Linked DNA regions of Homo sapiens: regions 1, 2, 4, 5, 6 and 7 are each linked to region 3. Evidence: promoter capture Hi-C in 16 types of primary human blood cells and fetal thymus (Javierre and others, 2016). All regions are on one chromosome and are shown on one strand. Each heading gives the region's core, a stretch centred on a gene start or on the middle of the fragment in contact. The rest is flanking DNA. Distances are from core to core; before and after follow the strand shown.

Region 1 (3,636 bases), core at 1,005-3,504, 1.7 Mb after region 3:
GGGCTCCCAGTGATGAGTTCCCACACAGGCTGTCTTGGGCTTAATGGGCTTGCACACTCCCATCTGTCTCAAAACATCTTTCCTTCTGGCCTCGAATCCAGGCTTTGCATCAGCCCTGGGAGCACTGCCAGCCCATTTGACAAATGGAGAAACTGAGGCCCATGGCCACAAATCAAGCAGTGGCAGCGGGCTGGGCTCCAGACTAAAAACCTAGAGCTCCTTTCCCGCGCCCAGGGGTTCCCAGCTGGCTCTGACTGTGGCTCCAGTCTCCTCCAGGCTCAAGTACAGTCCACAGGGAGCCCTGCTCTGCCAGCTCTTTCCCGTCTCTGGGGAGGCCCAGCGCTAGCAGGGTGGGAGACAGACTGGGAGGACAGGCAGCTGTGCATGCCCATAAAGAGAAGGGCTCTGTCTTCCACAGAACATTCGTGCTACCAAACGCCTTTTCCACTTCCATGACAGAGATGGCTAATCCATCCCAGTACTCAATTTCAGAAGCCATCTGGCCACCACTACACAGCCCAGATTCTCCCCCTTCTCCCCTAGACCACCTCCCGTGCCTCCTCTCCAGGCCTCTGCCTCCATCCCGACAGTCATTCCCCACACAGCAGCCAGAGGGATCTTTTGAGAAGGTGGAGGCAGCCTCTCCTCCTCCACAGCCTCCCACTGTCCCCAGCATAGAGTCTACACTCTGCATAGAGTCTACACGATGCTCTGTGACCCCTCCCCTCCCTCTTCTCCTCGTCCTGGATTCTCCAGCAGCTTTCACTCTCTCACCCGCACTTCCCCAGCCCGGGCTCCTTCTGCAGGGCCTCTGCCCTCACTGATCCCCCTTCTGAAACCCTCTTCTCCCAGCTCTCGCCTTTGACTACCTTCTTATTCTGTCCCCCAAACCCACTCATCCTCTGAGGGCCACAGTGGGCACCTGGGAAGTGGCAGAGCCAGGATTGGAACCCTGGCCTACTTCTAGACTCTTCTGTGTTGTCAGCCATGAGCACATGGTCCTATGATTTAAACATGTTTGGGGCCAGGCGTGGTGGCTCACACCTGTAATCTCAGCATTTTGGGAGGCTGAGGTGGGTGGATCACTTGAACTCAGGAGTTCGAGACCAGCCTGGGCAACATGGCGAAACCCCATCTCTACAGGAAAAAAAAAAAAAATTGCTGGGTGTGGTGGTGCATGTCTGTAGTCCCAGCTCCTCAGGACACTGGGTGGAAGGATTTCTTGAGCCTGAGGGGCAAAGGCTGCAGTAAGCCATAATCATGCCGCTGCACTCCAGCCTGGGCGACAAAGCGAGAGGCTGTCTCAAAAAACCAAAGCAAACAAAACCCACAAAACAAAACAAAACATCTTTGGCCCTCCGTTGCCATACTCGATGATTCCAGAAGCCTCTTACTTCCATTCCCTCCTTGGGCCTCAGCCTGTTCTGTATGACCTGCCCAGAGTCACTCAGTGAGAGTCTCTGGAGCCAGAGGGCTCCCTGACATGAAGGGATGGACCTGCTGGCACCTTGCCTGGCAGGCCTCATCCTGGCCTTGGACCATAGCCCTTGATTTCCCCCACCCAGCTACAGCTCCTCCGTCCTCCACAGAATGAGCCCAAACTCCCACCTCTTCATGGACCTGAAGGTCCCTGGGGTCTTAAGCCTGGGTTTTAGTCCTATACCCCACCGCCACCCCCCTTCAAGCCTGGAGGAGGGGCTGGGCTGGGTCAGGGGTTCTGACTCACCTGGGCACCCCATCTGCTGACACGGAGGTCATCCCTAGAGAGCCAGGAGAAGACACTCAACAGCCCAGGGAAATCAGGTGTGCTGCATCTGATGTCCTCGGGCCTCAGAGGCAGGCAGAGGAGAAGGGGAAAGGACTCAGATAAACCCAGGTGGACTGGGTTCCCTGCTCCAAAGCCACGGGTGAGGGCTACACCCTCGCCTCTTGCATCCCCTTCCCCACGATCCTCAGCATCTCTGCCCTGGGATGATCTCTCGCCTGCCTTACACTCCAGGGCTTGTGGGCTGCACGCCATGAGCCCACCTGGGAGCCTGAGGGATGGGAGCCAGGGCTTTGCAGGAGCAGGAATCCTTAGCTGCATGCCCACGTGGCCACCATGGCACTCTTGGCCCCCTGCTCAAAATTTCTGATCTTTCGAAGGCCACCTCTGCCAGGAAGGGCCTGGAGCCCAGGTGGTTTGAGCAGGGGATGGGGAGGGGGAGAAGACATCTCGGGCAGGCATTTGCTCAACCAGAGCAATGGCAAGAAGTAGTGATGGGGCTGGGGGTTGCCCTGGTTCTATCTTTGCCAAACCAACCTATGGTTTTTTGATTGGCAGAGCTGGCAGTGGGAGGTTCCTGACAGTGAAGACAGTCCAACCTTTGAGGCGGGGAGGGCAAAAGAGGCCAGGAGTTCTCATGGCACCTCGTGGGCGGATGTGCCAGGGGCTTAATTGCCTCATTAGCATCTGCCTGCTGCCTGGGCCTGTCTGGTCCCCTCCCTGCCTGCCCACACGGCCCCGTTTTTCAGGAATCCTTCCTATGAGGCATTGATGGTGACAGTGAGGGTGACCATGACGAAGCTGGGAAATGGCTTGGGAGCCGGCTGGCCTGGCCCAGGTGCAGGGTTGCTGGCTTGAGGCCTCATAGCCCAGCACCATTCCACGTGGTTCAGCTGGCCAGCTGCCTGCCGGGACCTGGATGCGGACTGTTCCCAGGTAGGCAACAGCAGGAAATAGTCTAAGGACTCCCCTTCCTGCCCTGGCCCCACCCAGCCTGACTCCGGCCACAGGCGCACATGCTTCAAGACTTGGATGACTCCCTTCCTGAAAAGATCAGGCCCTCGAGGAGGGAGGAGTTCAATGGCTCTCTCAGGGCTCCTAGTGGGCCCTCCAAGGTGGGGACAGGATGGACAAGGGCCTACTCTGCCTGGGCCCCTGCCCACCTCCCTGCCCCTCCCCGTGGCTTACGTAGTCTCCCAGCAGAGGACAGCACTGCCCTGACACCCATCTCCAACAGGACAACCCTCTAGCCTGAGCCCTAGGAGCAGCTGAGCCCAGGGCTGGTGGGCTGAAGAGTGTTGGGAGGCATTTGGCTGGAGCTGGAGACCTCCCCAGAGACCCTGAAGCATCAGCCAGCCCACAGCCCCAAGGCCCGGCCCAAGAACTCAGTCTGAGGGGTAGCTGGATTCCCCAGGCCATGGGCACTACCCAGACTTGGAGCTCCCAGGAACAACAAAAAGGCCCAAGGAGCTGGAGCCCATGGAGCTGGGGAAACACAGCTCTGCTGCCTGCAACACACTTGGGGGGCCTCTGCAGTGCCCCAGCCCCTGGGCCTTAATCTCTCCATCTATAAAGCAGGGCAGTACCTTCTGCCTCCCCTGACTCCCAGGGACTATGGGGCAGCCAGGGAAGTTCCACATTGGGCCCATCAGAGGGAAAGGAAAGGCCTCTTTGTCCTAAGTGGCTGGGTATGGGCCCTCGACTACCCCTATGCACTTTGGGCAGCAGGAGTGGCCTTGGCCTGACCCACCTGTGCCAGAGAAGGTCAAGTGCTGACCACCTGGCAGGCCCTTTGCCAGGCATAGCAGGACAGCCCTATGTGGCCCTCAGGTGACCAAGGTGTGAGTATGCCATGTGTGTTGGGACAGGGC
Region 2 (3,609 bases), core at 981-3,480, 1.9 Mb after region 3:
TCAAGTCTGAAAAAACCAGGGTCCACCGAATTAAACCAAACATCAGCAAGCCTTCTTGGGGAAGGTGGCTAAGGGTAAAACGAATTTAATCTAAACTAGTTTTTGGCTCCAAGGAGCTGCAAGTCCACAGGCGTGCGGTGAGGAGGGCTGACAAGGACCCCCAGGGAAAAAGGCAAAGTGCTGTGCTTAGATTTTGCGAAAAGATGCAGGTATGGTGGGTCTCCAGATGACTTGTGGCAACATAAAAGTTTCATGATCAGAATTGGAATTCAAAGTGGACCAAAAAGTGTAATAGAAAAAAAAAAGTATGAAAGGAAACCTGAAATTGTTCTACGATGCTTGCTTTGTTTTAACGGAAGCTCACATTCAGGTCAGGATGGGACGACCAAGTTCGTTTGTGTGTGGCAAAAAGGAAGTTTTAGATGTTGCTGAAAAGTTCACTTATGAACGTGGGCACCAAGTCTGAATGAGTAAGAGAAAGGCTAGGAGCAGGAAGAAAAAGCAAGGGGGCTCAAAGGGGCACAACAAATAAATCCTGACAGCTAAGAAGTGCAACCCACGCGGTCTGACGGCAGAAAGGCCGCGGGAAGCTGAGGGGCAGGGGATGGGCGGAGTGCCAGGGCGGAATCGAGGTCACAGTGGAGAGAGCACAAGAGAGAGCTGACGCTGCCGAAGGAGGCAGAAAAGCAGCCCCTGCAGTCCTGCGTCGAGGCCGGAGCAGACCAGCACCTTTGACAGCCTGAGGAGCTGAAAACGCTACCTGGTGGGCCCAGGGTGGGCGGACCGGGCGTTTAAAGGTCAAGGTCAAGGTGGGGTTTGGCAAGTGATGCATAGCGCTCAAAGGAGACCGAAGACATACAAATAATATTATAAAATTATGACTATCGTTATCTTTTTTTTTTAAGAAGAAAAAAATAAAAGGTCTCCTGGACGGCTGCGGGGTGGAGGCGGCCCTGGCAGGAACGCGTGCAAAATAGGCTGGGGGCTGAAGTCGGGACGGAGGGCAGGCCGAGGGACCTGTGCTGGGCCACCGGAGGGAGGCACTGAGACTCGGGCCCAGGGCCTCCGCCGCACTCACTTGCCCTCCTGGCAGTCATAGAGCACGATGGAGTCGTCGTCGCTACTCGAGATGACCGTCTCGCCGTTGGGGCTGAAATCGAAGCAGTTAATCTTGTCCGAGTTTTCGCGGAACACCTTAGCGACGCGGAAGCTCCGCAACACGCTGTCGGTCAGCTTCATGGCGGCGGCTGGGGAAGGCAGCGGCGGCGCAGGGCCGGGGCGGGGCCCGGCGGCGAGCGGGCGGGCTGCCGAGGGGCCAACCCAGGCGGGGCGGGCGCCGCGCCGGCGGCTAGCGGGAAGTCGGCCAACAGTTGGGCCGCCTCCTCCTCTTCTTCCTGCTTGGTCGAGGGTCTTCTGCCTGGACTGTGGAGCCTCGCCGACCGTTCGTCCTCACAGCCACCTCACGGACAACCGGCGCGTCGCCGGCTCATTGTGTCCGCCATTTTGGGGCGACAGGCAGAAGCTGAGGGCGAGGAGCCTCAGCCGCGGCGCACGCCGGGAAAGGGGGCGGGGCGGGAACGGCGGAGCAAGGCGGGGAGGCGGGGTGGTGACGTCAGCGCGGCCGCGGCGGAGTGTAGTGGCGGGGCGGGCTGCTGGCAGGGAGCGGCCGAGACGTGCAGGGCCTTCCCGGGGGATCGGAAGGTTGCGGATGCCTTGGGAGCCGGGGGCCCTTGCGCGGGATTGCAACCCCCGCGAAGACTCTGGCGCCTCCTGCAGGCGTCCCGATCGCAGGCTGCGTGGGAGGGGGTACTGCAGGGTCGGGTATGCTGCTGGAGGCCGGTTTTGGGGGTGACTCAGGTGAGCCGCTCGCAGGCAAGCTTGACCGCTAGTCCACCGCAGCGTCCGCTTAGACAGCTTCGACCTCTTTACTTTTTTTTTTTTTTTTGGAGATGGAGTCTCTCGCTCAGGCGCGCGCCACCACGCCCAGCTAATTTTGTATTTTTGGTAGAGACGGGGGTTCACCATGTTGGCCAGGCTGGTCTCGAACTCCTGACCTCACCCGCACCCGGCCTCGTTTTCTTAATCGAGGTAGACTTTAGGTACAGTAAAAATCAGCCTTTTTAGGCCGGGCGCGGTGGCTCACGCCTTTAAACCCACCACTTTGGGAGGCCGAGGCGGGATGATCGCTTGAGCTCAGGAGTTGAGACCAGCCTGGCCAACATGACAAAACCCCACCTCTACTAAAATACAAAAAATTAGCCGGGCATGATGGCGCGGCTGAGGCACGAGAATTGAGAAAGGCGGAGGCTGCAGTGCGCCGAAATCGTGCCACTGCATTCCAGGCTGGGCGACAGAGCAGACGGTTTCCCCCCAAAAATTAGCCTTTTTAGTGGCTAGTTTTATGTTCTGACACCCATACACAGTCATGCAGTCACCACCACATTCAAGATTTGGAAGAGTTGCACTATCCTGTTTGTAGTCAACAGGATTATTTTAAAGGTTCTATCATATAAGTGATTATTTGCCTTAAAAGAAAGTTTATCTCTAACAAAGGAAAGCAGTATTTGAACAGAAAATAGGAACCAAGCTTCCTAACCTTAACTTTCTGGGCAAGGGGTTAAACTCAATGCCAACCTATGTGGCTTCACAGATCTGTATCTTGTGTGAAGCTCCTCAAAAGGTTAATTGCCTGGGGTTTCCAACAATGAAGATGGGGATTATTTATTTTTGCTTTCTTTAGCTAAAGAGAAACAAAAACGAGGAAAGGCTGTGAGACATTTCAGTCGCTATTAGGAAGGTTATTATCCAGAGACCTGTGCAATGGTAAAAAACAAAATGGAAACCCTGGGACAGTTGGGGTCTTTCTAGAAAGAACTAGAGGCTGTATCCCAACCCCCTGGGTAAAAGGAGAGCCAGGATCCTTATACATAAAGAGAAGTTGTTCTCTAAGGGAAGAGGCAAGTTCCTGGCTAAGTCTGGGGTATAATTGCCTCCTGACAAAGAGCAGAGCTTCTGGCTACAATTTGTTCTGGGGTCTGGAAAAAGCCGGTTTGAGTGAAACCTGAATAGATGGCAACTTTCCAAACTGCACACAATGGAAGAAAAACCCTCCACGTCCCAGATCACTTGCTCTGCTTCCCTGTAATTCCTGTGCCTTTATTTCAGAAGCTAGAAAGTCTGATACAGCGTCTGCTTCGAATAGTTTAGAAGGCAACAAGGACAGATCGAGTACCATGTTCTAGAACTGTCGGGAAGTGAACACACCCAGTAAGATGATGCCATATTTTGGTCCATGTTAATCTACAAAAATAACCACAGAAACAGCTGTAATCTACTGAATGTTGCCAGCCAAAATAAATCTTTGCAGGGTATTTTTCAAGTATTGTACTTCCTATACCTTTTCCAGATTTCACCGTTAAGACCAAACCTTCCTCCCAAGACTTGACTTTCTGCATTATTTTTGGAATGCAGTCTTTTTTTTTTTCCCCCATTTTTAAGAGGGTCTTCAAATCCTCATCCTGTTTCGCATTCTTACTGTTTCCAATTCCTAGCCTGGCTCCCTGCCCTATTATAGTGGGGCTCTCCTGGCTTCCAGCCCAACAGTATGGT
Region 3 (3,576 bases), core at 353-2,852:
ATTGCCCAAGGGGCAGAGCTGGAGAGCTCTGCTTTCCCCCTACCCCCAGTCCCAGCTCCATCATGCATTGGACCCTGGACATGGGCACCTCAGCCCATGGCTATTTCCTGCCCACCAATGTGTTCATGAGTCTTGCCCTTCTCCCTGACTAGCTGGGTTCACTTTCCCATCTCTCCTCTACCCCTCTGCTGTCCTTGCAGAGGCTGGCCATACCAATGGGCAGAGTGCACCGGCCTGAGGCATTTAGCTCCTCCAGCAAGATGGTCATGATGGGCACCAACTTCTGCTTGCTCTCCTCCATGGACACGAAGCTGCTCTCTAGCTAGACAGAGCATGGAAAGCATGGTGGGCACATCCCAGGACCCCTGGCTGGTTGGCTGCCCTGAGTCCTGAGCTGGTTTGCAGGGTCCCAGGTTTGGGGGACTTTGGAGACATGGGAACACCTTCCCCAACTCTGCCTGTCGGTAAACCCAAGCCCATCTCATTGCAGACCTCTAGTGTGGTCAGATAGCCAGCCAGCTTTTTAACAATGGGCTCGAGGGCGCAGGTCTTGGCCTGGGCATCACACACGAAGCCCAGGTTGAAGAGGAGAGCATTGCGGCTGTACTTCTTGTGTTCGATGCACACAGGACAGCCGATCAGCTTCTTTTCCATAGCTGTGCTGGATAATTGGAACACAGTCAGGCCCCCAAGCCTGTCCCTTCCTCCTCCTGGGACAACCCCTGCCACCCACCGCTCACCCCGAGCTAGGGTCTCACACAGTGATAAGCTTGTTCTGCAGCTCTGGCTTGGTGATGATGTACACTTGGACTGTGTCAAACAGCTCTCGGGAGATGAAGTCTTCAGGGACCTGGGGAGGGGAGTGGCAATGGGCCCCTCAGTGGACATCTGTACTGGGTGTAGTACAAATGGTGACCTCCTCATGCCCCCCAAGCCCAAGTCCTCTTCTCCAGCGTTCCCCTCTCTCCCATCCACTCAGGCCTATTACTTCTTTCTGTTTCCAAACATACGCTATGATCTCACCTCCTTCCTGGCTTCTGCATATGCTGTTCCCTCTACCTGGAACACTTTCTCCTGCCTTACCTAAACTTCCTATGCATCATTTACTCTTCACTCAGTTCAGGGATACTCATGGGTCACCCAACTCACCTTCTGTGGGACCTGGAACCCCCCAACCGGATCCCTACAGCCCGATATCCTACAAACACTGCCAATGTGACGTATGTCTTCCCTGCCACATTGGGAGCCGGGGGCCTGGGTCTGACTATCCTCTAGCCTCACAGTTGTCTGCGAATGAAGCAGCATGCCTGCGTGCAGCACGGGAAACTACTGCCTTCAGGCAGCCAGTTGAGCTCTCGAGAACGTCCCTCTTCCCGCCCAGTCCCGCGAGCCCGGGTGGCACCTGATAGGTGATCTTGGGTCCCAGCGTGGGGTGGAACTCGCTGAAGAATATGCATTCGATGCGGCAGCCGCTGCCCATGGCAATAACCGGGCCCAGGCCCGTAGCTCCTCGTTCCTCGCGCAGAGGCGTCCCCACCTCCTGTGAACACTTGTCAGAGACAGCCTCGAGGCCTGTGTCGCTGGGGCACGCAAGCTTGCCAATCCCTCTGCCCAATGGCGCCTGCGCAGCGCGACTCAGAGGCGTGGCTGGGGCGGGGGACGGCTCGTCCCAGGAAGTCCTGGGTGGGTAGACGTCGCACCCGGAAGTAAAGCGGCTCCGTGACGGAGCGGCGGTGCGCGCGGCAGGGCCCGGAGTATCCCGCTTTCTTTGGAGGAAACCACCGCATCAGATCTGCGCTGCGGCAGAGGCAGGCAAGTCCCTAGCGTGGAGGGGCAGCATGCTGGCAGCACTTGGGGAGGCGGTGCGCTAAGGGATTCACGCTGTAACTGGGACCGCAGCAGGGAACTACAATTTCCATAGTGCTCCGCGCCCTCCCAGCTGGCTCTACTGCCGGCGACGGCGTGGTACACGCTGGGATTTGTAGTCTTACATGGCTTTGCGCCTCCTACCTGGAAGGCGGGCCAGCGATTGGTACCAGTTCAGACATGGGTACACGTTGACAGGCCGCCGGCCGTCGACTGGCATGTTGTGACCATTCCTGGTGCTGGTCTTGGTACTGTTCTTTCCTACCATAACTTATTGGAAGAGGGTGGCATTCCTGCCTTGCAGCCTTTTCTCCAGTGAGGAGTGAACAGTGGGCACCTGAGATCCTGGCCCACGCTACTATGCTTTCAGGCTACAACCACTAGCACGGCTGACGATGGCCCTTTCTGCGGAGACCGAGTCACACATCTACCGAGCTCTGCGTACTGCTTCTGGCGCTGCCGCCCACCTTGTGGCCCTGGGCTTTACCATCTTTGTGGCTGTGCTTGCCAGGCCTGGCTCCAGTAAGTAGAATTCATAGCTGACTTCTGGGAAGGGAAGGGCCACTGTTCCTGGGGAGGAAGGGCAGTGGGACTTCCGGGAACAGGCCTGGCTGGTTGAGGGAATTCTGTGCTGGAGCGATGAGTGAGGTGGAGCAGGTAGGTATGGCCAGGGCACACAGAATTCCTGGTTTGTCTTTCCTTCTCTGGGTGCTCCATTTGGCTGCCTCTCAGGAGGTGTAAGGGAAGGAGGGAGGACTGCCAGAGGAGTGGCAAAGCATGGCCTCTGATCCAGGAAGAGGCCAGGAAGAGAGGATAGGTGTGGGGTCAGCTTGTTGCAGAGCAAGAAGGGGCTCACAGTTTGGCAGCACCTCCTTGGGTGATGGGCTGCTGGTATTCCTCAACCCTTAAGGATTGGTATGGCTGGTTTCTTCTTGCCTCAGCCCCATGAGGCCTCCTCTTCTCATTCCAGGCCTGTTCTCCTGGCACCCGGTGCTTATGTCTTTGGCTGTAAGTAGTGGGCCTGGGCAGTTCTTAGGGGTGGGAGCATGGGCATGGTTGGTGGCCCTGGCAGCCTCTGAATCTTTGTCCACATTTAATATCTGTTTGGAAGAGTTGCATGCTCCAACTACTCCTGCCCATGGTATATATTTCAGACTTGAGGCTGGGCACGGTGGCTCATGCCTGTAATCCCAGCACTTAGAGGCCGAGGCGGGCACATCACCTGAGGTCAGGAGATCGAGACCATCTTGGCCAACATGGTGAAACCCCGTCTCTACTAAAAATACAAAAAATTAGCCGGGCATGGTGGCACGCGCCTGTAGTCCCAGCTACTCGGGAGGCTGAGGCAGGAGAATCGCATGAACCCAGGAGACGGAGGTTGCAGTGAGCCAAGATTGCGCCACTGCACTCTAACCTCTAACCTAGGCGACAGAGCGAGGCTCTGTCCCAAAAAAAAAAAAAAACCCAAAAACAAAAAAACCCCCCAAAAAACCAAAAATTAGCTGGGTGTGGTGGCAGGTGCCTGTAATCCCAGTTACTCAGGAGCCTGAGGCAGGAGAATTGCTTGAACCCGGAAGGCGGAGATTGCAGTGAGCCGAGATCAGGCCACTGCACTCCAGCCTGGGTGACAGAGAGAGACTATCTCCAAAAAAAAAAAAAAAAAAAAAAAGAGACTTGAATCAGAGTAATGAAGACCCAGGACCCAGGTCA
Region 4 (3,459 bases), core at 884-3,383, 1.3 Mb after region 3:
GGGAGAATCTTCAAGCTGGCCCTGCAGACCCCTCCTCTATGAGCTTGAAGCACCTTCCAGATTTAGCCTGGACTTCTGCTCCCGGCATCCATTTGTGGGCTTTCTATTTGCCCAGGTCTGGTTCCCCTTGCCCATGGCTACTTGTGGATTTCCAAATGCAGTGGACTATACCACCATGAATCCCTGGCTTCTGCCAGGACTTTGGTCCCCTGCCTCCTCTTCTTGTCATCCCTCCTTCCATCTCCATTTGGGGCCAGTGCTCTAAGGCCAGGCCATTCAGATTCTGCCCACTCTTTGGGGTTACATCTTGCTGTTTCTGTGCTTTCCATCCCTCAGCTCTTCTGCCATAGTTGTAGGCCCTTGAGGGCTGAGAGGGCAGTCCCTGGGGATGGGGCTTGGAATCTTACCTCTTCAGCCATTCTGATGCCCCTCAACCTGGTGATATGGCATTTCCTTAGACCTCAAGCTGGTGCTGGGAGATGGCCAAGGGGGCTAGTGGAGCCAGATGAGTTACTTAGAATGTTCAGAATGCTGAAGTCAAAAACTAATCCAGCATCACTAGCACCCTGTGAGCGTCTGGCTGTTCTTACAACCTATGGTGAGTCAGAGCTTGCTAATGTAACCTACTGCTATGCTATGGGGTGGTGCTGCCCACAGCTGGATGGGCTGGCAGCTCTGTCAAGGGTTCTTCAGCCTCTACTACTAAGCCATGCCAAACCAAGCATTTGGAATCCCCAGCTCTGATTTCCTTGCCTGGAGAGCTCAAGTGCACAAGTCCTGCAGTCTACCCAATGTGTGCTGACCGGCTTACTGGGGCACTAGTTGAAACAGGATGTACTGGTTCCCTCTCTGTGCCAGGTTCTACTCTACACCTACACTCTGGAGATGAATCAGACCTGGCTCTGCCCTCAGGAAGCTCTGTGTGGCTGACATGTCAGCCCCACATAAGTGATTCTCCAACAAGACACTGTGCTTGATGTCCACAGAACTTTGAGCTGTAGGTTCAGGGAGGCTGCCATGAGTCTGCTGGGGAGGCTCAGAGAAGGGGTAGATTTCAGCTGGGCCTTCTCATGTAAGTAGAATTTTGCTTTGTTGGGAAGGGGTACTTGGCTAAGAAAACTGTGACAGCAAGAGCCTGAAGACATGGGATGACCAGAGAATTGTGGTTAGTAGACATGTCTTGGGTGGAGAAAGGTGGAAGGGTTTGCCCAGCCAGGTGGTGGGGAAGTACAGCAGGTTGAGAAGAAGGATGTGGCACAATTTGCCACCTTTGTTTTAGGAAGTTAGCTGAAGGGCAGGTGGAGGAGGGAAGGAGATGAGGCAGGAGGCCGTAGAAGAGATTGGGCTGGGTCCAGGTGAGAGGCGACATGGGTTGGTTGAGGTTTTGCAGTCACATGGCCAGGAGATGGCACTAACTGAAGTTGGGAGCACTGGAGCCTGAGTGGGATGGGACAGACAGTGGGCTATGGGGAGCTCCTAGAGCAGATGTGTGACCCTCACCCCTTCAAGGGCTCCGTTGTGTAAGGCCCTGCCCCCCCTTCCACACCTGGCCCAGTCAGAGCCTTCTGCAAGAAGAGTCCTTGCAGCTGGCTGTCTTCTCATTGGCGTGTCTGCCTGTTCTGGAATCAACAGGTTGCCTCTTGGGTTGGAGGTGCTAATTCCTGGATGGGAAAGGGCTAAGGCAGCAGGGTACCCTGGGGTCAGTGCTGGAGGCTGGTCTAGGGAAGAGTGAGATGGAAGAAGCCTGGCATGGGATATTCTGGCCTGGCCACTGCCTCCTGCAGCTTTCCCAGAGATGTGGTGGACCCCATGGGGTGGGCCCTGGGTCTCCAGGGTTGGTTGGTCATAGTCTGACTAGGGTGCTTGTCTGGGGGACTGTGGCCTGAGAGCACAGCCTTGAGGCTAGCAGTCCCGAGTTCTGATTCTGTCCCATCACTGTCCTGCTGAGTGATCTTAGGCATATCCCATAATGTTTCTGAGCCTCTATTTCCTTGTCTGCAGAGTAATGATAAAATACCTGCTTCATAGTAGACTGAGAAGAGTTAAGTGATATAGGTGAGGCATTTACCCCAGCACTTAGCCCTCAACAGATGCTTAACAACAACAAAGATGGGTGGGAAAACCACTTGTGCTAACATATGCTGAGAGGTCAGACTGAGCAAACCTAGACCCTTGGCCTGGCTGTGGTCATTTGGGTGGCACAGAGGATGATGAACAAGTCAAGGTGGCCCTTCTGACCCTGCCCATCCCAGTCCTGGGTCAGTCCAGAAGACACCTGTGTCCCCATTTAGAGCTAGGTCACACTTGGCACCTGGGATGGCTCAGGGACACTTGGGTCCCCATTTACTCTTGGAGCTGGTCAGTGCATTCTCTGCCTGACAGAGATTGTAACAGGTTCAGGGAACCATGGACCCCCAGGCTTCAGGTGCTCGTGGCTATCACAGACTGGTCCGGAAGGACCTGAGGCCTCCTGGTCCACACTCCATATTATGGAGGGAGAAACAGATTCAGATAGTAGGAGAAAGGCACTGATCTCATATGTTTTTGTTTTCATTTAACAAATATCTGAGCACCTGCTCTGTACCAGGCTCTGTGTTGGGCACTAGGGTACCATGGGGACCAGGACCTGCCAGTGTGTGGGTGTTAGGAGCCTAGAGGAAAGGCCCCATCCTGGTCCTGGAGTGGGCTGAGAACCAAAGGTTTTTGTCCCCTAGGCTGCCTCCACCAGCAGTGTGCAGCGTGGCATGCTCTGGTTCTCAGAGAAAGAGAATAGAGGCTGACCTGTTCAGTGTCCCACCCCCACTGTGTCCTTCCCTAGCCCAGAGTGACAGGAGCCAGAACCTGCTTCTCTGTGAGTGTGGGGAGGCAGTGAGGCTGTGTCAGGCTCTGTGAGTGGGGTGGTGAGTAACCAGGTGAGAGGTGCCACCTGGCTTTAGATGCTGCCCACCCCATGAGGTGTGACGGACAGCTCCCTAGCCATGCCTCGTCCTGTCCTCAGCTGGGCAGGGAGTAGGCTGGTCCCACCTAGGCTGGGTGTGGACCCAGGAAGTAGCACAAGAAAGGGTACCACTAAGATTGGACAGTGGCAGTTGGTGTGGACCTGTTCATAGTAGCTGCTGCTGGAGCTGTTAGCCTTGTGCCCTGGAGTCCTGTATGGGAAGAGGCTGCAGGTCTGGGTGAGTGGTTCTTGTGAGGCAGGAGGAAGGATTCCATTCTCCATCCCTGAAACCCTTGGCATGGTTGGGAATGGGAAGGTGGGGAAGAAGTCTTTTGGGAAGTGGACAGACCCTGGCAGGGGCTCATGGGTGTACTCACCCACCTCAGAGCCCAGCATTCATGGAGTGTGGGCCATTCCTCTTCAAGGTATGCAAGGGATGGGGTATGAGTTCAGAGATAAGGATCACATGTAGGCGGATGTCAGTCACAGATCTCCCTTACACACACTGGTCCATACTGCCC
Region 5 (3,515 bases), core at 803-3,302, 1.8 Mb after region 3:
TTACAACACTCTATTTCACTTTCCATGTGAGTCGGCCTTGTTTCCCAATCTTTCTCTATATTAAACAGGAAACTCCCAGAGGGCTAGGGACTGGCTGGTTTAAACAATAAGCCTCTGAAATACAGGACTTCACCTGACCCTCCTGCCAGCCACAAGTGGCAGGGCGGGAGAGCTTTACAAATCAGGAAACCAAGCCTTGAAGAGGTTGTGGCCTGCCCAAGTCTATGGCCAAGTAAGATTCAGAGCTGGGTTTGAAACCCATGCCCAACTCCACTATCCAGTTCTTTCTGCTTTGGCTTTGGCTCTGATCACCCCCAAAAAAACCCTATGAGGGCCAGGCGCAGTGGCTCAAGCCTATAATCCCAGAACTTTGGGAAGCTGAGGGTGATCACTTGAGGTCAGGAGTTCAAGACCAGCCTGGCCATCATGGTGAAACCCCATCTCTACTAAAAATACAAAAATTAGCTGGGCGTGGTGGTGTAATCCCAGCTGCTCAGGAGGCTGAGGCAGAAGAATCGCTTGAACCTGGGAGGCAGAGGTTGCAGTGAGCCGAGATTGTGCCACTGCACTCCGGCCTGGGCAACAGAGGGAGACTCTGTCTCAAACAAACAAACAAAATAACAACAACAACAAAAACAACCTGTGAGGCAGGCATTTCAGGGATTATGATCCTATTGCCCAGATAAGGAAAGCAAGGCCCAAAGATGAGCAAAGCACTCAATATCATCCTTATTCTGTTCCCACTTCCAGCTGCACTTGGGTCCAAGTCCAAGTGCTGACCTTTTCTCTCTCATCTTCTCTGGGTGATGGGCACTGCCCAGGATCTCTTGGCTGAATGGCACAGAACTGGGTCTCGAGCTCTCAGACCAAAGCCCTCATCCTGGACTGGTCCCACTGCCACTCTGAACCCAGGTGCCTCCTCTGAAGGTGGAGACTCACCTCACCTGCCTTGCAGCCAGCTGGGTGCTCAGAGACAGAAATGCAAAGTACCTGGACACACCCTGGTCACCATCATTCTGGACTTTGTCCCTCTTGTTAATGCTCAGCTGGGAAAGGAATACCCTCAAAGGCCCTTTCCTCAAGAATGGAGGAGAGTACCTCTGAGCCTGGCACAGGCCCAGCCCAACACAGCCCAAGCCAAGCTGGGAAGGGTGTGGGGCAAGGAAGCCAGACTGACATTCCTGAGACGGGTTTGCCAAGCCCTACACTTTATGTGTTGTACCCGGGAAACTCAATGGAGGTATGGCCCAACGCTGACCTTTGGCATGGAGGCCTAAGCCACCCTGCTGGTGCCCAGGGTGGCCAGCAAGGGGCTTCAGACAACCCTGGATGGAAAATAAAAATAGTGGCTAATATTTGTTACACGCTAACTATTGTCAGGCCCTGTGCCTTCCCCTCCTCCCCAAGTGCTCAGAGCTGTGGAGTGGATGGGTTCCACCCTAGCCCTGTTCCTCTGTCCCCTCTGGATCATCTTAGACCAGAAAGTGCCACAGCTGAGTGTCCCGCTTCTTCCGCATCCTGCCAGGACCACTCCATTTGTGGGCGATATAGCCAGCTCCACCTCCTCCGGGAAGCCCTTGTTCACAGTTTCCAAAGCAAGCCGCAGGCGGGATGGATCCTGCTTAACACCCCGGCCCAGAACCCCTTGGATCTCCTTCTTCCTCCATGTCCAAGACACCCAGCTTAACAACCCTGTAGCCCCCAACTTGGCCCTAGCGGCACCTCGCCTCGACCTTGCCATTTTATACTCAATTGGGGCGTAGGGTTCTGAAGCCCAGGGTAGTTGGTGGGGAGGCAGCACGAGGGTGCAGGATGAGGTCGGGAAAAGAGACCTCGTCCGCCCACCGCCTAGCGCTTCCTCCTCCCTGCAGGCGAGCCGGGGAATCCCCGGCAGCACCGATATCCGCAGAGCCCAAGAAGTGGGCCTCTCTGCCCCGCCCCCCCGGCTCGCCGAGGGCTACGCGGCGCGCCTGCGCAGAAGAAGGCAGCGCCCAAGGCGCATGCGCAGCGGTCACTCCCGCTGTATATTAAGGCGCCGGCGATCGCGGCCTGAGGCTGCTCCCGGACAAGGGCAACGAGCGTTTCGTTTGGACTTCTCGACTTGAGTGCCCGCCTCCTTCGCCGCCGCCTCTGCAGTCCTCAGCGCAGGTGAGGGCCCGCGCGGTAGGTGCGGCGCCGGCCGAGGAAGCCCCGGGGTGTCCTGCCAGCCGTGGCACCGCTGCCCCGGGTGCTGGGACCCCATCCCCCACTGTCCCAGTCACCCGCCGCCTTGAGGTCAGCGTTTATCCTCCAGATCTTTTGCCTAGACGGCCGCCTCAGTTTCCCCCTTTCGGCCCCTTCCGGCTATTCCCGGTTGAACCCGCCGCTTTAGAATTCCCTTCTCATACCCCTCCCGTCATTCTCGAGACCTCGACCGCGGGTCACCTCTGACCCCCACTGCCGGAGGACTGCCTTCTTTCTCCAGACTCAACTCCCTCGACTTTATAAGCCCCTGCGCGTCCCCAGTGAGGCCCAAGGCGCTGGCCCTCATACCCCTACCCTCATTTGTGCCCCTCCTTTCTCAGTTATGCCCAGTTCTTCCCGCTGTGGGGACACGACCACGGAGGAATCCTTGCTTCAGGGACTCGGGACCCTGCTGGACCCCTTCCTCGGGTTTAGGGGATGTGGGGACCAGGAGAAAGTCAGGATCCCTAAGAGTCTTCCCTGCCTGGATGGATGAGTGGCTTCTTCTCCACCTAGATGTAAGCCAAGATGTCTTATCTGCACTGTGCATCTCCCTAAGAAACCTCTGGCCTCCCAAACCTGTTCTTGACCTTTCCCTCATCCTTCCGCCCCCTTGATTATGTACTGTCAGTATTCATTTGGTGAAGTTGCTTTGCAGGTGCCTTTGTGTAGCGCTGGAGAATGAAGAAGTTGGTGACCCGGGTAAAGTGTGGTCACCATTCCTTAGCTCACATCAGTGCTGTCCTTAGGCATTTTTGAGGGAGAAGTGTTAGTATTCCAGGGTACCCTTTATATAAACTGCGGTTGACACCTGAATCCAGTGAGCTTGCAGTGATATTTGCCTGATTATTAACAACTGTTGATGTCACTCTTCATCAGTCTTTCCACAGGAGCCAGCATACTTCCTGAACATGGAGAGTGTTGTTCGCCGCTGCCCATTCTTATCCCGAGTCCCCCAGGCCTTTCTGCAGAAAGCAGGCAAATCTCTGTTGTTCTATGCCCAAAACTGCCCCAAGATGATGGAAGTTGGGGCCAAGCCAGCCCCTCGGGCATTGTCCACTGCAGCAGTACACTACCAACAGATCAAAGAAACCCCTCCGGCCAGTGAGAGTAAGTGTCATTGACAATGAAGGAGCAGGTATGGGTGTTTGTGCTCATTGGTAGACTAGAAGCAGTCCCCACAGTGGTGGTGAGGGTCACACTCACTCACAGAGGGCTGCTATGTGCAGGCTGGGCTCTGAGCACAGATTATCTCATATGATTGTCCCCCCAAGGGTAGGCACTTTTAGCTT
Region 6 (3,367 bases), core at 44-2,543, 1.6 Mb after region 3:
GGACATGCTCAGCTCTCCCCTAGACCCTCCAGCCTTCTCAGCTAATCCTTAGAACCCCCTGACACAGGAAGAGAAGCTGACCCCAACTCCAGCACTGGGTCAGATGGAGGTCATAAGGCTGGTCAGTGTGGGAATGTGCCCTGCACGCACTCAGACAAGGCCACTCCTTACCCTAAGTGCCACTGCCAAGCAAGGGAGATAGCCAAACTGCCCTCAGGAGGCAGGTTACACCCTGACCAGAGGGTTACACTTCAGGCTGTGGAGACCAAGGAAAGCTTTATTATGGGTCTGGTAGGGTAGAAAAAGGAATTGCAGGCTTTGGGTGGGCCAGTTAGGCTGTGCTCAGGCAGAAGCCAAAGCTAGAGAAAAACTACATGAGAGGCCTTGACTGTGCACCTGGAACCAAGAAAAGACACTTCCATGTGATTCAGTGCACTCACCCCCTTAAGAGATTCGTATCTTTGTGATCGGGGTTTCTTGATACCATTTCTGTGCCATTTTCGGGCTGTGGGAGAAAAAAAGGGAATTAAGCCAACAAAGAACTTTCCTCTAATAAGACCACCCAACATCACAGCTGGCAAGTCTGGGAGAACCAACACTTCCTACAGCAGCTACACTTGAGATATGGGAAACCCTTACTACTAAATGCAAAACACTCTGTATCTCAAGTAGATCTCTAAACCTATAAACCCTAAAGTTATTACTGGGTGAAATCAATCAGCCTCAGGCCCACAATGGAAACGTGCCCCTTCATCTCTGTCCCAGTTTGCCTGAACCAGTCCTTGCCAGGGTCTGGGATGTAGGCAGGGCCCAAAAAACTTACACTGGTTGTGTGTGGTGTGGTTCTTGGACTTGGCCATGTCTGCACCTGGAAGACAAAAGTGGAGATCAGGGTTAAGGGCTCGCCAGGCTGGGCCACCTCTGCCCCCCCCATTCTGGTCAGAATGAGCCTGCAGGCAGAGAATGTGCAGCCTCCACGAGTCTCGGCTTACTCTGCACGACCAAACGCCAGTCCTGGCCTCCCAAACCCAGGTAATGATGCCCTGAAATCAACTCCTTACCCCCGGAAAGCTGCATTCCCCAATAAAGTGGCTTTCCCTGCCATCCCCCTCCTAGGACCTAGAAGCACCATTCCCACCCCGCAGCTTTTGCTCCCGACAGACACACGGTCGGTCACCAGTCCTCTCCGCAGCCCGCGCCCCGCCGCCACCCGTAAGTCGCGGATGGCATCGGATGCCGCGCGGCCAACACTCACCATAAGCCGCGGCTCCCGAAGCGCCTAGAACCGGAAGAGAAAGGGGCTGCGGTGCAGCACGGGAAATAGGGTCAACAACGCCGGAAAGTACTACTGGAAAAGCTTCCCCAGGCTCCGCGAAGAAAAGTTCCGAAGCCCGGAAGAACGCAAGCCAGACGTGGAGGCGGTGCTACGAGCTTGCCTCCGCCCCCTTCAGGCTGCCTCCTCCCTTCTCTGTTTCTCCAGGACCTGTCTCTTAAGTCTTATTCAAGATACTGAAAAAGAAAGGAGTCCTTGAGGGATGTTGTTGGGCAAGAAGATCTGTGTTCTTTTTCTTTTTTTTTTTTTTTGAGACGGAGTTTCGCTCTTCCACCGAGGCTGGAGGGCAGTGGCACAATCTCGGCCCACTGCAACCTCCGCCTTCCGGTTTCAAGCGATTCTCTTGCCTCAGCCTCCCGAGTAGCTGGGATTACAGGCGCCCACCACCACGCCCGGCTAATTTTTACATTTTTAGTAGAGACGGGGTTTCACCATGTTGGCCAGGCTGGTCTCGAACTCCTGACCTCGCGATCCGCTCGCCTCTGTCCCCCAAAGTGCTGGGATTACAGGCGTGAGCCACCGCACCTGGCCGATCTGTGTTCTTAAAAGCACCCCTGTAATCCCAGCACTTTGGGAGGCTGAGGTGGGCGGATCACGAGGTCAGGAGTTCCAGACCAGCCTGGACAACATGGTGAAACCCCATCTCTACTAAAAATCCAAAAAAAAAAAAAAAAAAAAAAAAAAAATTCACGGGGCGTGGTGGCACGTGCCTGTAATCCCAGCTACTCTGGAGGCTGAGGCAGGAGAATTGCTTGAATCTGGGAGGTGGAGGTTGCAGTGAGCCAAGATCGCACCATTGCACTCCAGCCTGGGCTACAGGGCGAGACTCTGTCTCAAAAAAAAAAAAGAAAAGCACGCCTGACTCTTTCGTGGAGAAGGAGCAGAGGGGAGGAAGGAGAGAGGGCTGCCTGGACCTGAGGGAGGACAGTGGGAATGCAGAGGAGTGGACAAAGAAAGAGTACTGGACTTGGGACACAGAAGATGAGGGAGAAAAAGGAGGCAAGGATAGCCCCTATGTCTTTGGCTTGACAACTGGGTGAATGGTGGGCTGTTTACAGAGATGGAAGATTGAGTGGGGAGCAGGGGCTTTGTTTGTTTTGTTTTGAGGGGGAATGATGAGCCAGATATTTTTGTTGGATGCATTAAATGTGAGATGCCTGTTGGACATCAGAATTGAGAAATTGTTGCCTCTAACAACTCTGTTGCCTTCTCCACCTCTTCCCCCTATAGTTCATTTTCCACACGGCAGTGGGGCTTGGGGACTTGTTTTAAGATACAAATCAGATCCTGTCCCTTAAATCTGCAAGGACATCCCCTTGCATTGAAGATCAATTCTTTACCCACTTGACCCTGACAACCTCTGTCATTTACTTCTCTCCAAACGCATTGCCTTTCTTTCCTGCCAACCACAAATGTGTGTTCTGCCTCAGGACCTTTGCACTTGCTATCCCAGCCACCTGGACTGCCCTTCTCCCTGCTTTTTGGATGGTGTGCTCTTTCCTATAGAGGCCTCCCTGGACTCCATTATCTAAAATAGAGAACCACTGCCTCATCTCACCAGTGATTCTGTGTCCTCTCATGGTTTCCTTTCTTTTCTATTCTTTTTTTTTTTTTCTTTTTTTTAGACAGTCTCACTCTGTCTCCCAGGCTGGAGTGCAGTGGTGCGATCTCAGCTCACTGCAACCTCTGCCTCCCGGGTTCAAGCGATTCTCCTGCCTCAGCCTCCTGAGTAGCTGGGATTACGGGCGCACACCACCACTCCCAGCTAATTTTTAAAGAATTATTTTTAGTAGAGACGGGTTTTCACCATGTTGGCCAGGCTGGTGTTGAACTCCTGACCTCAGGTGGTCTGCCCGCCTCGGCCTCCCAAAGTGCTGGGATTACAGGCGTAAGCCACCGTGCCCGGCCATGGTTTGCTTTCTTTATAGAACTTTCCCAGACTCTAATTGCATTGTTTACTTAGTTGTGTATGTGTCCATTATCATAGGAGCCCAGAGTTTGGGACTGGTTTGATCACCTTCATTTTCCCACTGC
Region 7 (3,365 bases), core at 604-3,103, 1.9 Mb after region 3:
TGAGGCATCAACTGGTGAGGGTGAGGAAGTGGCCCCATAGACTGAATTGGGCCTGCCCCACCCTGGTACCTTTCTGTTCTGTCACAGTGACAATTCACAGCTCAGAGGTCCTTTGGGAAACTTTCTCTGACATCGCCCCTATCCTCTTGCCAGCTGGATGAAGCAGCATCCACCAGAACTGCTACCATCACTGCAGGGGGCTTGGTGGGCAGAGGCCTGGCTTGTCTCCATTAGCACTGCGTTCCTGTGCCCAGTGTGGCCCCAGCAGACACTGTGGGTTCAGTCAATCAGCCCCCAGGCTGGTCTGGGACTGAGTCATCGGAGGGAGTGGGTGTTGGGCACAGGTCCCTGCCCTAAGAACCTTCCTTCTTGGGCCCGAGGAACTCCCACTGGGGCAGGACTAGCTGCTGGGAGGAAGTAGGGCTTACTGAGCGTCTACCTGGGCTAGGGAGTGGAGGTGAAGGTGGACTCCTCATACAGCTCATATGCAGGCACTGGGCTGTGGAGCCTTAGCCGCTTTTAATTGGCAAGCCCTGGCTTCCTGGAGGAGGAAAGGGGAAGAGAAGTGCCCTGGGGGCGAGGATTGAGTCAGCTGCATTGTCATAATGGAAATAGTACAGCCCTGGGTGTCCAAGACTTCCCCTCCATGGGCCTCAGAATCGTCCATATGATGTAACACTCTTTTTTTTGAGACTGAGTCTCGCTCTGTTGCCCTGGCTGGAGTGCAGTGGCTCCATCTCGGCTCACTGCAACTTCTGCCTCCTGGGTTCAACCGATTCTTGTGCCCCAGCCTTCTGAGTAACTGGGATTACAGGCGCACACCACCACGCTTGGCTAATTTTTAGTACAGACGGGGTTTCACCATGTTGGCCAGGCTGGTCTCGAACTCCTGACCTCAAGTGATCCGCCCGCCTCGGCCTCCCAAAGCACTGGGATTACAGGCGTGAGCCACTGCCTCCGGCCAAAGTAACACTTTTGCACAGGGAGTTGGACTTGAGTGACAAATGGGTGACAAAGTGCTTTGTTAACTCGCAGATGTGAAGGGGACACTGCGGCTGACCGCCTGGTGACAGCTAGCCAGTGGTTGAGAGACCGCAAGATGGTTCCTCGTCTTTCACTTCCCTCCGTCCCAGGTCTGAACTCGGACCAGCTGGAGCCTTTGGGGGACCACGGATTCCCCTTTACACTCACACAGATTTCTCTTGTCCGTCACTCACTCACAGTCCAGTAAGGATCCTGCTGTCTATTCCGCGAAGACATCTTGAATGCAGGGACAGCCATTTGGAAGACTGTCCTCGAGGGTGGCAGCAGCCTCTCAGGACGGGGAAAGCCAAGGTGCCCACTAAGCCCGTCTGGGGTGGAGGGTGGCAGGCCGGGGTGGAGAGGATTGGAGGCCGCCTGAAGGAACCTGTGCTCGGTGGCATTTACTCAATGTGGGGGTCTGACACCTCCCAGCTCATTTTGTCCCCATCTTCCCCTTGCGTCAGGTCCCCACCCAGCAGGAGGAGGTCCGAGGATCTGCGCGACGCTGGCCCCGCGGAGTGTGGGGGACTTTTCCTCTCAACCACCAGTGCCCCGCAAGCGTGGGTGAACAGTCCTCCCTGGCTACTGTGGGACGCTGGGCAGGCGACTTCGCCTCTCTAGGCCTCGGTTTTCCTGCTTGTCAAATGGGGCTGATGCCGGCGTGGGCTTCTTCAGGCGGTCGCGAGCGTTGACCCCTGGAGTCAGCGAACCAGCCGCGCACGCACTCCCGGGCGGAGGTCGGGGCTGGGGGGCGACGCCTCCCGTCTGCGCGCCCCCGGCCCCGCCTCCCGCCGGCGCACCCCTCCCTCGGCTCCGCCCGCGGCCCGCTTCTTCCTCCCGCGGGCGGCCCAGCCCTAGCGCCCCGCGCTCCGCGGGCAGCCCCCTGCCGCCGCGCCATGTCCGCCGGCTGGTTCCGGCGCCGCTTCCTGCCTGGGGAGCCGCTCCCCGCGCCGCGGCCGCCTGGGCCGCATGCCAGCCCCGTGCCCTACCGACGGCCCCGCTTCCTTCGCGGCTCCAGCTCCAGCCCCGGGGCGGCCGACGCCTCGCGCCGCCCAGACTCCCGGCCCGTGCGCAGCCCCGCACGAGGACGCACGCTACCCTGGAATGCAGGCTACGCCGAGTGAGTGCCCCTCCCCGACCCCCAGCTCAGGCCCGGGCCTGAACCCGCTTCGGGTCCTGCGCCCGCCTAGAAAGCGGGAGGAGCTGAGTGACAGTCCCCACCCACCTGTGGACAGCCCCTTCTTGCCCTCACCTCCGAATCCTGACAACTTCCCGGTCATCCCGACCCAGCGTTTTCCTTGGGATTCCGACCTCCCCCTCAGAGAAGACAGGAGGTCGGGAAGGACCTGCAGCCCAGGGGCTTCCAAGATGAGGCCCAGAGACTCGGTAGAGTTCCAGCATTCGGGGCTTTGGAGATTTCCCCTCGCCCTCTACCCCCACCATCTCACCCTGGGTATGACCTGCGCTGTATGGGACAGGGCTTTGGGCTGCGACAGGACAGGGGCAGGAATGGCAACCTACCCTTACCGTCTAGCCCTGGGTCACCAGGTAGGCTCCAGAGGAGCTGGGCCCTGACTTTTACCTTAGCCATGAGGCCAGTGAAGTTAGGAAGCTTACATCGTGGTTGTCTAAGTGTGTGTTAGGGACAGCACTGGGGAGCTGTTGCCCCAGAGGGAGGGGTCTTCTCCCTGTGCTGGCTTGGGTCCCTGTGCCCATGGGGACATAGGTGTGTCCCTGGAGGGTCGCTTACCATTTCCCGGCCTCAGGATTATCAATGCAGAGAAATCTGAATTCAATGAGGATCAAGCCGCCTGTGGGAAGCTGTGCATCCGGAGATGTGAGTTTGGGGCTGAAGAAGAGTGGCTGACCCTGTGCCCAGAGGAGGTGAGTGCAGTCTGAGTTCTTGGCTGGAATCCCTCCGACAGGCTGGGGCCACGACCTGCAGGCTGAGGTTCTTACCCTGCTGCCCCAGGTCCTAGTTAGGTTGCGTCAGGGGACAAGTGGGGAAGTCAGGCAGAGGCTGACACTGAGCCCTTCCTGTGCAGTTCCTGACAGGCCATTACTGGGCACTGTTCGATGGGCACGGCGGTCCTGCAGCAGCCATCTTGGCTGCCAACACCCTGCACTCCTGCTTGCGCCGGCAGCTGGAGGCCGTGGTGGAAGGCTTGGTGGCCACTCAGCCCCCCATGCACCTCAATGGCCGCTGCATCTGCCCCAGTGACCCTCAGTTTGTGGAGGAAAAGGGCATCAGGGCAGAAGACTTGGTGATCGGGGCATTGGAGAGTGCCTTTCAGGAATGTGTGAGTGTGTGGCTTTTGGCTGGGGAAGAAGTGGAGATTTTG

Evidence for each region. The method cuts DNA at HindIII sites, captures the fragments that hold promoters and counts their contacts. A CHiCAGO score of 5 or more calls a contact.
Region 1: a contact is called between the fragment with the promoter of LINC00696 here and the fragment with the promoter of NPRL2 in region 3, in 3 of 17 cell types (endothelial precursors, erythroblasts and total B cells). The highest score is 7.1, in endothelial precursors.
Region 2: a fragment that was not itself captured here is called in contact with the fragment with the promoter of NPRL2 in region 3 in 1 of 17 cell types (fetal thymus); the score reaches 5.1 in fetal thymus.
Region 4: a contact is called between a fragment that was not itself captured here and the fragment with the promoter of NPRL2 in region 3, in 1 of 17 cell types (non-activated CD4 T cells). The highest score is 5.5, in non-activated CD4 T cells.
Region 5: the fragment with the promoter of ALAS1 here is called in contact with the fragment with the promoter of NPRL2 in region 3 in 3 of 17 cell types (total B cells, erythroblasts and neutrophils); the score reaches 9.6 in total B cells.
Region 6: a contact is called between the fragment with the promoter of RPL29 here and the fragment with the promoter of NPRL2 in region 3, in 5 of 17 cell types (total B cells, erythroblasts, naive CD4 T cells and 2 more). The highest score is 8.2, in total B cells.
Region 7: a contact is called between the fragment with the promoter of PPM1M here and the fragment with the promoter of NPRL2 in region 3, in 1 of 17 cell types (total B cells). The highest score is 5.3, in total B cells.

What each region holds. Positions count from the first base shown.
Region 1 is chr3:52,062,858-52,066,493 of GRCh38, forward strand. It overlaps LINC00696 (long intergenic non-protein coding RNA 696), which reads right to left and starts at 2,255. Exons shown (of 1, transcript NR_027331.1): 1 at 1-2,255. RefSeq lists an enhancer at 1-44. The HindIII fragment of the contact is 16,366 bases long and covers 1-3,636 here.
Region 2 is chr3:52,277,123-52,280,731 of GRCh38, forward strand. It overlaps WDR82 (WD repeat domain 82), which reads right to left and starts at 1,527. Exons shown (of 9, transcript NM_025222.4): 1 at 1,079-1,527. The coding sequence starts at 1,239. RefSeq lists enhancers at 254-886, 390-439, 460-539, 950-1,049, 1,519-2,150 and silencers at 1,240-1,319, 1,500-1,789. The HindIII fragment of the contact is 710 bases long and covers 1,876-2,585 here.
Region 3 is chr3:50,349,173-50,352,748 of GRCh38, forward strand. NPRL2 (NPR2 like, GATOR1 complex subunit) reads right to left here and starts at 1,603. Exons shown (of 11, transcript NM_006545.5): 1 at 1,403-1,603; 2 at 759-850; 3 at 493-661; 4 at 214-322. The coding sequence starts at 1,480. CYB561D2 (cytochrome b561 family member D2) reads left to right here and starts at 1,690. Exons shown (of 4, transcript NM_001291284.2): 1 at 1,690-1,812; 2 at 2,237-2,388; 3 at 2,837-2,874. The coding sequence starts at 2,262. LOC127898564 (CYB561D2-LOC101928965) reads left to right here and starts at 1,690. Exons shown (of 5, transcript NR_183066.1): 1 at 1,690-1,812; 2 at 2,237-2,388. RefSeq lists an enhancer at 1,645-1,864. The HindIII fragment of the contact is 2,178 bases long and covers 1,593-3,576 here.
Region 4 is chr3:51,674,655-51,678,113 of GRCh38, forward strand. All of the region lies in intron 2 of TEX264 (testis expressed 264, ER-phagy receptor), which reads left to right. Among named protein-coding and RNA genes, the nearest start is that of TEX264, 5.1 kb to the left of the region's middle. The HindIII fragment of the contact is 6,271 bases long and covers 1-3,459 here.
Region 5 is chr3:52,196,108-52,199,622 of GRCh38, forward strand. It overlaps ALAS1 (5'-aminolevulinate synthase 1), which reads left to right and starts at 2,053. Exons shown (of 12, transcript NM_000688.6): 1 at 2,053-2,148; 2 at 2,565-2,741; 3 at 3,103-3,333. The coding sequence starts at 3,135. RefSeq lists enhancers at 1,595-1,664, 1,675-1,894 and silencers at 2,035-2,104, 2,215-2,294. The HindIII fragment of the contact is 12,746 bases long and covers 1-3,515 here.
Region 6 is chr3:51,994,602-51,997,968 of GRCh38, forward strand. It overlaps RPL29 (ribosomal protein L29), which reads right to left and starts at 1,294. Exons shown (of 4, transcript NM_000992.3): 1 at 1,256-1,294; 2 at 824-868; 3 at 441-505. The coding sequence starts at 860. RefSeq lists an enhancer at 1,239-1,398. The HindIII fragment of the contact is 1,082 bases long and covers 274-1,355 here.
Region 7 is chr3:52,243,906-52,247,270 of GRCh38, forward strand. PPM1M (protein phosphatase, Mg2+/Mn2+ dependent 1M) reads left to right here and starts at 1,854. Exons shown (of 10, transcript NM_144641.4): 1 at 1,854-2,143; 2 at 2,790-2,907; 3 at 3,069-3,323. The coding sequence starts at 1,920. RefSeq lists silencers at 1,728-2,097, 2,138-2,197. The HindIII fragment of the contact is 3,516 bases long and covers 1-2,633 here.